Linked DNA regions of Homo sapiens: regions 2 and 3 are each linked to region 1. Evidence: promoter capture Hi-C in 16 types of primary human blood cells and fetal thymus (Javierre and others, 2016). All regions are on one chromosome and are shown on one strand. Each heading gives the region's core, a stretch centred on a gene start or on the middle of the fragment in contact. The rest is flanking DNA. Distances are from core to core; before and after follow the strand shown. Region 1 holds the start of TMEM11 (transmembrane protein 11). Region 2 overlaps LINC02693 (long intergenic non-protein coding RNA 2693). Region 3 overlaps LOC105371589 (a long non-coding RNA gene).

The links. Contacts are between HindIII fragments. The CHiCAGO score rates a contact against its expected background, and 5 or more counts as called.
Region 2: a fragment that was not itself captured here is called in contact with the fragment with the promoter of TMEM11 in region 1 in 1 of 17 cell types (total B cells); the score reaches 5.2 in total B cells.
Region 3: a contact is called between a fragment that was not itself captured here and the fragment with the promoter of TMEM11 in region 1, in 5 of 17 cell types (activated CD4 T cells, total B cells, neutrophils and 2 more). The highest score is 7.1, in activated CD4 T cells.

The regions. Positions count from the first base shown.
Region 1 is chr17:21,212,589-21,215,574 of GRCh38, forward strand. It overlaps TMEM11 (transmembrane protein 11), which reads right to left and starts at 1,573. Exons shown (of 2, transcript NM_003876.3): 1 at 1,503-1,573. The coding sequence starts at 1,564. TMEM11-DT (TMEM11 divergent transcript) reads left to right here and starts at 1,737. Exons shown (of 2, transcript NR_184102.1): 1 at 1,737-1,862. RefSeq lists enhancers at 1,475-1,574, 2,345-2,554 and silencers at 1,655-1,794, 1,915-2,184. The HindIII fragment of the contact is 13,322 bases long and covers 634-2,986 here.
Region 2 is chr17:21,543,988-21,546,973 of GRCh38, forward strand. The region is part of intron 1 of LINC02693 (long intergenic non-protein coding RNA 2693); the gene reads right to left. Among named protein-coding and RNA genes, the nearest start is that of LINC02693, 6.2 kb to the right of the region's middle. The HindIII fragment of the contact is 3,454 bases long and covers 1-2,986 here.
Region 3 is chr17:21,518,377-21,521,362 of GRCh38, forward strand. It overlaps LOC105371589 (a long non-coding RNA gene), which reads left to right. Exons shown (of 4, transcript XR_934332.3): 2 at 26-83; 3 at 1,109-1,328; 4 at 2,689-2,893. Among named protein-coding and RNA genes, the nearest start is that of LINC02693, 32 kb to the right of the region's middle. The HindIII fragment of the contact is 6,064 bases long and covers 1-2,986 here.

The DNA.
Region 1 (2,986 bases), core at 323-2,822:
AAACAGTTGTCTCAAGCCAAAACAAAAACAATTCTCAGCATCTATTTTCTTAGATCAATAAAAGCTTAACCTGTGCTGGCAAGGCTCCTGTTCCCTGCCTGAGGCATCCCTATTCGGCTCTTTTCAGATGCTTTTAGTCCAACAAGAGGGCGTATGTTTCTAATACTTTGTTTTCTAAACAGGTTATTTCGTATTACTGTTTGCATTGAATATCTTGAAAATGTTTGCTAGTTTTTAAGAGCATCTGAAAACCATTGAGGTAACTTATTTAAATGGTCCAATCTAATACCAGGCGGGAGTTAGAAAAACAAAAGTGTGTTTACCACTGCTTTTCCAAGGAAGAGGAAATGCAGAATGGGCAACGCTGGATAACTGGGCTAAAGAATAAAGTGCAAGCAAGCTAAAGGATTCTATCACAACTGCCAAACAGGAAGAATCTTCCCAGCTGGGAAAGCCATCTGCAAGCAATAGCAATGAACACGGGATGGAATCAGTCACAGAAAAGGAATAATGCAGAGTAGTTGAGAGGAAGATAACTTTTCTGTTAGACAATCCTCACCAAAAAGACGGGGAGGGGGAGAACCAGCAAAACAAAAACTTTTCCTTTTTTGCTGACCGCTGCTATAACAATCAAGCTTTAGCGGACAGTTAATCCAGGTGGCTCCACCAATACATCTTCTCCCAAATTTCTAGTGGCTGAACAGCTTCTAGTGGTTTCCACTAGCTGAAACTGCTTCCCAGATGCAAAAACTGCAACTTGAACATGAAACACGGAAACTACTCCAATCTCATCTTCTAGAAATCAGTTATTCAAATGGAGGTCCCTGTTGGAAGAAACACGCTCCTAGCTCCCTGCCCACACACCATTCATTAGGAAAGGTCACTTTAAAGGACTTCTACGGCAGGAGCGCTTGCACAGAACCATCCAAAAGTCTTCAGAATCTTCCCTCGAGGAAGTGGCCGGCTCTGGGCTCGGAAGAGACACATCTGGCGGGAGCTAAAGCTCCCTAGTAAACGTGCAGATCAAACTACCCCTGCCGCGGCCGGCCTGCTCTGTGAAGGCTTCCCCTTCTTTCTCTCTCCGGGGGCCCTGCCTTCCTCTACACGTCTGGGGCCGCGGCCGAGATGGCCACGCGCGTGCCCAGGCGGGAAGGGTGCTTCAGCAGCCGATCGGCCCGCGGGCAGCTAGGCGGGTCCCTGAGGCCTGCGCTGGGCGCCAGTTCCTTTCAGCACGGCCCGGCCTCGGGCCCCGCCCCGCATGGCCGCTGCCTACCTTACTCAGCCCGGCTAACGCCCCTTCCCCTAAGCTCTCCGCCGAGGCCTTCGACCTCGCTCCCACCCGGATCCCGGATCCTCCGGAACTGGAACCCAGTATGCCCGGCGAGGGTAGGGGGAGCGCGGGGAAACCAGGGAAGGAAGGCTGCTGCAGCCCTCGGAGGCCGCGCTGGGCTCTCCGGCCGCTGAGCCGCCTGCACTGGGGGCAACAAGCCCTTGGATCTCACCTCTCTCGGGCGCTGCCGCCACTGCTGCCCGGGCCAAGACGCCTCCTTCCCCAAGCGGCCATCTTGGAGACACTCTGCTTGCCAACGTCTCGCGCCAAGGCGGCATCGGGAGAGCAGGCGGGCCGACGGGAAGTGTAGTCCGGCCTGCGGTCCGGGGCCGCTCGGCAGGCGGAAGCCAGACCCGGCGGAACTACCGTGCCCACAAGGCAGCGCGCCGGAAGCCCCGCCCCCGGGGTCGCCGGGGCCCGTAGTCCTTCTGCGAGGGCGCGAGGACTCCAGGAGCCGTCCTGGTTCGAGCATTTCTGAAGAAACTGAGTTCCCGGCGTTCGCAGCCTGGGAGTCACAGGCGCCCACCCACCGGTAGGTCCTTGAGTTTCGAGAGCCAGTAGCTGAAGGAGAGAGGAGAGGCAAGTGCCTACAACTCCCAGAGCACTGCGCGGAGGCGCCCGGCCGCGCTGTCCTGGCCGCCAGGCTGCCTCTCCCGCTGGGGGCCGCCGCGCTGTCTGCGGGCTACTAGCGCCGGGCCCCTCCGCGTCGCCACGCCTGCCCTTCACAGCCTTGGCCCATAAGGTCACCGAGGGGCGGGAGGCGCCGCCCGGGCCCTCCTTGGAGGCGGGCGCTGCTCCCGCACCATCCTCCCCCAGTTCTCTTAGACTCCGGGGTACTTTGGAGGCCGAGACAGACACGCTGTCCCTGCTGCCACGGAGGTCCCTGCTTGCAGGTGCAGGCTGTTAGAGGAGAGGGTCTGAAAACAAGAAAGGGGAATAGCTGTATGATAACTGCTTGAAGGCGAGAGGGCCCAGCGACAGCTCTGTTTTAGACAGGGCCTCCAGGCCTCTTAGACTCAGTCCCTGCCACGCACCCACTCCTGCCCTGGCCGCTGCGACGGCATAATCTCGGGATCTTTGAAGGCAGATGCGGGGCTAAACCATCCCACCTGACGGGAACCCTGCCACAGGACCCGACATATCCCTGTCTGGACACTGCTGTAACGAGTCAAAGTCAGGAAGGACTAACTGGAGCCCAGAGATTCCCAGGTGCTGCTGCCTCAGACCTGTGGACTCTTTGGAGGATCTCTTACAGTTTGTGAACTTCTCAGTTCCTCTACTGCTCCCACAGACAACGTTGCTAAACATATTAATTGGTCCCATAAATACTTGAGCAAAACAAATGCGAAAATCTGTCCCGAATTCAGCCTAGAAGAAGCCCAGCCCTGCGCGTCACACTTCTGTGTAGTGGAACCCCCCTTCCCACCCCGCCGCAGGCCACAGCAGGAGGGCCAGCAGACGGAAAGGCGACCCTCTCCTTGTTGAGGATTCCTTTCGATTTCCTTCCAGCTGACATTCTACCACAGTTTTAGCTGCTTGCAATCCTCTCACCGTCCCTCATCACCTACAGTGTGTGATTCAAATTCCTTAGCACAATCAAGAAGCCCCTCCTTAGTTTGGAAGTTGCCTAGCTCTCCAAATTCAACTGCCTACCTT
Region 2 (2,986 bases), core at 188-2,687, 330 kb after region 1:
AGGGGCTGCGGTGCGATGCAGAGAGCAAAACTTCCCACTGAATAACACTCCTATGTGAGAGCGGCATGGCGGCCAAGGTCAGCTGGCTCAAGGCAACTGCCTCCTTTTTTCCTAACAAGCAACATTTTCAGGGAAAAACCCCAGCTTCAATGTAGGAAGGTTTTGATGGTGGCTCAGGCCTCGGACTGAATTAAAAAGGAATAAGGAGATAAAATCCATATTTTAATTATAAACAAATGTCTCACTGAAAAAATTCCAGACCCATAAATCCATCTATGTATTAGTTATTGGAGTAATTTAAAATGTGAGGAAATTATAAAGTGTGTGTCCCTTATTATATATTTCTTCCCCCCACCACTTTTTGAACATCTAAAGTTCCTAACACATAGATACTCTTTTATGAGGAAAAAAAAACCTGTTGACATTGATACAGTTTGAATATTTGTCCCCTCCAGATCTCATGTTGAAATTTGACCTCCTAGTGAGACCCTGTCTCTACAAAAAATTAAAAACTTAGTTGGGCATGGTGGATTGAGCCTGTTATCCCAGCTACTCAGGAGGCCGAGGTGGGAGGACCTCTGGAGCTCCAGGAGTTGGATGCCACAGTAAGCTACGGCTCAGCTCAGCCATGGCTTCTATAGTGAGCTATAACTGCGCTACTTCACTCCACCCTGGGTGACAGAGTCAGATTATCTCTTTAACAAAACAAAACAAAACAAAACAAAACAAAACAAAACAAAACAAAACAAAACAGAAGAAAGAAATTTGATTCCCAATGTTGAAAATGGGGCCTAGGATGGGTGTGGTGGTGCAAGCCTGTAATCCCAGCACTTTGGGAGGCCGGGGCAGGCAGATCACAAGGTCAGGAGATCGAGACCATCCTGGTTAACACAGTGAAACCCCGTCTCTACTAAAAATACAAAAAATTAGCCCGGCGTGGTGGTGGGCACCTGTAGTCCCAGCTACTCGGGAGGCTGAGGCAGAAGAATGGCATGAACCTGGGAGGCAGAGCTTGCAGTGAGCTGAGATCATGCCACTGCACTCCAGCCTGGGTGACAGAGCGAAATACCATCTCAAAAAAAAAAGAAAGAAAGAAAGAAGAAAGAAATTTGATTCCCAATGTTGAAAGCGGGGCCTAGTGAGAGGTGTTTGGGTCTTTGAGGGCAGATCCTTCAGGAATGGCTTGGTGCTGTCCCAGTGGTAGTGAGTTCCTGCTCTATGAAACATGAGAGCTGGTTGTTGGAAGGCACGTGGCACCCCACCTCCTTTCTTCCTTGCTCCACTTCCCCTTCCACCATGACTGGAGGCTTCCTAGGGTCCTCACCAGAAACAGATGGTGGTGCCAGGCTGGTACAGCCTGCAGAATCATAAGCCAAATAAATCTCTTTTCTTCATAAATTACCCAGCCTCGGGTGTTCTTTTATAGCAACAGAAAATAGACTAATACAGACATCAATGTGAATATTTAATATTGGAAAATTTTTTTTCATTTTCTATTTTGTCTGTATAGCTAACATTAAAGAAGCCAAAGATATAGAATGCTACATCTCAGATATTGCATTTTGTAAAAAACATGAAGGTAAAATCTTTGTTTCTTCAATTACTAATCAATGATAGTTGTACTTTGCCCATTCTATGCAGAATACAGTTCCATGAACCGTGGGGAGATGGAAAATAACCATGTCCCAGCCTTCCAGGCAAGTCCCTGGAAGGAATGGCTTGGTGCTCTCCCAGTGGTAGTGAGTGAGTTCTTGCTCTATGAAACATGAGAGCTGGTTGTTTGAAAGCGCGTGGCACCCCTGGTGCCTGGAAGGCTGGGACAGGTAAGATTGCATCTCTGTGCTCTGCAGTGTCTGTCACACAGCAGGCACTTAATGAGAAGGCTGCTGAATGAAAGAATACTTCCAACCAGCTTGGAGCCCAAATGCAGGTTCTCCCTGAAGTTCTGACCTCACGTTGTGGGCACTGTGGGCTTCCATGCACATGTCCACACCACCCGTGCACCCACTTCCTTCCTGGACCTGAGCAGAGCCCCACTTTCCAGCTCCTGCCTGTGAGGGGATAACCAGGCCCCTGGGACCCACAGCTCCAGCAGCTGGAATTCAGAGTTTATGACCTGCTGTTTTCCACATTCCCCCTCCCTCCCCCTCAGGACCTGCACCCCACTGCACGGCACCTTCTATTCTGCTGTCATGGCCCAGAGCTCTGTTCATCTGCTTCAAGCAGCTCTCCACCCCGCTTCCTCCCTCCCCTCCTGCTGGATCTCTTTCTTTCATTGGTTCTTGTCCCGTTCCCTCAGTAAAAGAACTCTCCTTCCAATCTGCCTCATTCACATTCACTTGGGAACCAAAAATTCACCCCACAGCTTAGTATTCCCAGTTGTGGAAAAATTCAGGCACCTTCTGGATGAGACAAATGTGAAGAAGCCAGACATGAAAAAACACTTATATGGATTGATTTATATGAAATGCCCAGGGAAGAAAAATCTATTGAGATGGAAACTAGATTTGTGATTGCTTACAGCTGGGGTAGGGGTGGGGGAACAGGGTGATAGCTAAAAGGTACAGGACTAATAAAAATGTTGTAAACTTAACCATGGTTTTGGTTGCACATATCTGTGATTATACTAAACCCTAGCAGATCATAAGGTATGTGAATTTTTCCTCAATAAAGCTGTTTAAAAATAAAAAAAAAATTAGGCTGGGCACAGCAACTTACCCTGTAATACCAGCACTTGGGGAGGCTGAGGCAGGAGGATTGTTTGAGGCTAGGAGTTCAAGACCAGCCTGGACAATAGAGTGAGACCCCATCTCTACAAAAGATTTAAAAAATTTAGCCAAGCATGGTGGTGCGCACTTGTAGTCCTAGGTACTTAGGAGGCTGATGTGGGAGGATCACTTGAGCCTGAGAGGTGAAGGCTGCAGTGAGCCGTGATCATGCTACTGCAATCCAGCCTGGGAGACAGAGAAACATCCCAACTCAAAAA
Region 3 (2,986 bases), core at 235-2,734, 310 kb after region 1:
CTGTTGTACTTTTGTCTTTTGACAGTTCCATGATGGAAAATCTAATGGCCACTTTCCATTACCACATCCCAGGAGCAGTCCAGGTAAGTGGCTCCTTTTGTTTCTGGGGTCCATCTCGCTCCTGGCTCTTGACGCCGATGCTTCTCCTTCTCCTCCTGCATTTCTTGTGCTCCTCCCCAAGGTTTGCCAGCGCGCTCACAACCCTTGCTTGGGATTTAAAATCTGAAGTGCGTCATAACTCACCCCTGGACTCTGTTATTCTTTTATTGGTATGCCAGAAAAAAAGAACCCCAAGCTCTCTGGGTGACCAAATTGATATTTAAAGCATTAATTATTAACTCTATTCTTACAACCTCCAGATTTTATCTCCACTCAGAATTATATGTACAGCTGCCTAGCTGATTTCCAGACTGAAATGCCTCTTTGACATTACAGATTAAAACTGATCCCACTCTATTGTCCAGGTCATCTTCCTTGACTTGGCTGTGACCCAGACTTACTGTCTAAATAAATGGTGTGACGGCTCACCTAGGGACCCCAATCCAGACTCTAGGAGAGTTTCTTCAGCCTGTATCCCCCCATGTCATGAATAATCCATTACCGAGTCCTGTTCGTTCTTCCTATACATCTCTCCAAAGGCTTCCCTCCATTTCCACAATGACCCCAACTGTTTCACCACTCGCTCCTCAAAGAACCTCTGGATTTGTTTCTAGCTTTTGGCTATGAGGAATAAGCCTGCTGAGAACATTCAGCTCCAGGATTTTGTGTGAATGTAAGTGCTTTAGTGGTGGGGCGGGACCCTGCAGGCCATCCCTGGGTTGGATGATTCTCTAGAGGGACCCAGAGAACTCCACCAAGCTGACCTAAGGCCCTGAAAGTCAAACAGATACCGCATGGCCCAATGCCTGCACCATAGCTCACTTGTTGGAATAAACTGCCTAAGAAAAATGGGGGTACGTGGTTACATTATCAGAGGCATCCCAGGTGGATCCTGGAGACATGGACAGTACCCGTAGTCACGAAGCTGACAGCTGGAAGAAGCCCATCTGGTTCAACCCCTGTCTGGCATATTCCTTCCTTCTCCATCCTCACTTTCTACCCCTCACAGGGACAGAGAATTTACAGCTTACCGAGCCAGGCCATTGCACTTTTGGACAACTCTACTAAATGGATTTTCCTCATGCCATTGCATAACTGCTACCTGCCACCAGAGCCTCAGAAATACATGGTTTTCCATCAAGCACTCATGGAACATGTAACTGTGGGCGCTTCTAGGGCGGTTCATGATGGATCCTCCAAGATCAACTAAATATAAAACAAGCTCCCAGGTAACAGAACCATTTCAGCTGTTAAATAAAATCATCTGTATTAACCTAGTTTAATTATGAGGGACATCTCTCCCAACATAATATATATATATATAATAAATATATACATATATAATATATAATAAATAAATATATATAATAAATATATTATATATATATATATATATATTTTTTTTTTTTGAGACAGGGTCTCACTCTGTCACCCAGGCTGGAGTGCAGTGGTGCCATCACAGCTCACTGCAGCCTCAACCTCCTGGGCTCAAGCAATCCTCCCACCTCAGCTTCCTGAGTAGCTGGGACTATAGATGAATGCCATTATGCCCGGCTAATTTTTTAAAAACTTTTTGTAGAGGCAGGGTTTCGCCATGTTTCCCAGGCTGGTCTCCAACACTAGGGCTCAAGCAATTTGCCTGCCTTGGCCTCCCAAAGTATTGAAATTACAGCATGAGCCACTGTGCCTCCAACATACTCATAATTTTTTTAAAAGAATAGTTGGTATTTGGGGGCTGGGTACAGTGGCTCACACCTGTAATCCCAGCACTTTGGGAGGCAGAGGCAGGTGGATCACTTCAGGTCAGGGTAGTTCGAGACCAGCCTGGGCAACATGGTGAAACCCATCTCTACTAAAAGTACAAAAATTAGCCAGGCGTGGCACACACCTGTAGTCCCAGCTACTTGGGAGGCTGAGGCGAGTGGATTGCTTGAACCCGGGAGTCAGAAGTTGCAGTGAGTGGAGATCGTGCCACTGCACTCCAGCCTGGGTGACAGAGCAAGACTCCATAAAAAATAAATAGTTGGTATTTGAGCCTTTCTTTCTGAAAATGATTGATAATGGCCCCATTCATCTGTTGAGGTTTTATATGAAAACAAAACCTTATACCGTTGTGTGGAGAAAGGTGCTGACTGTCCTCTTTGTGGTGGGGTGAATATGGCTTCAGCACACCCAGCAGCTGTTTTGGGTTCTCAAGAAGGGAGGCCCAAAGTAGTCCAATCGTAATAGGGTCTCTCAGAAACCCAGCCCAGCTACTCCCCTCCCTCAAGGGAGTTTGTGACCTTGCTACTCACAGCGTGGTCCATGCATCAGCAGCACTGGGGTCACCTGAAGTTTGTGTGAAATGTGGCATTCCAGGCCTGCTGCACCACGTGCATCAAAGCACACACGTTCTTCCTATTGCTGAGAGGGAGGAGGGACGGCAGCACAGGAGCAAAGCCATCACTGTGATTGCGGTTAGGGACAGTGCCAGAGCACCCAGCCCCGAGCCCCACCACCACCACCCCTTGTCCTTAATTACAGAATTCACTTGAAATTAAAAATCCCCGCTCCCTAAATACCCACCCTCTCCTCTGGCTTTCTTTTTAGCTGAGGCAGCTGCTCTCGCCTCTTCTTTCACTCGCTCCTGGCAGCACAGCAATCTCTGCAAGTTACTTGGACCCTCAGGACTCCTTGTTCAAGTGCAATGGAGGACCATGCAGATGGCAGGGAAAACCAAAGAAAGCTCAGGTGGCCCATCATGGCTGTCATCGGTGGAAGAACGTCTCTATTTAACACTGAACCTTAGTAATGACATGCTCTCCCCTTGTCCTGGACCTTCATTTTGAAATAGAGCATTCGGGTGGGAGGGGAACCACGGGGGCATTTCAATCCTGAACCTGCTCTG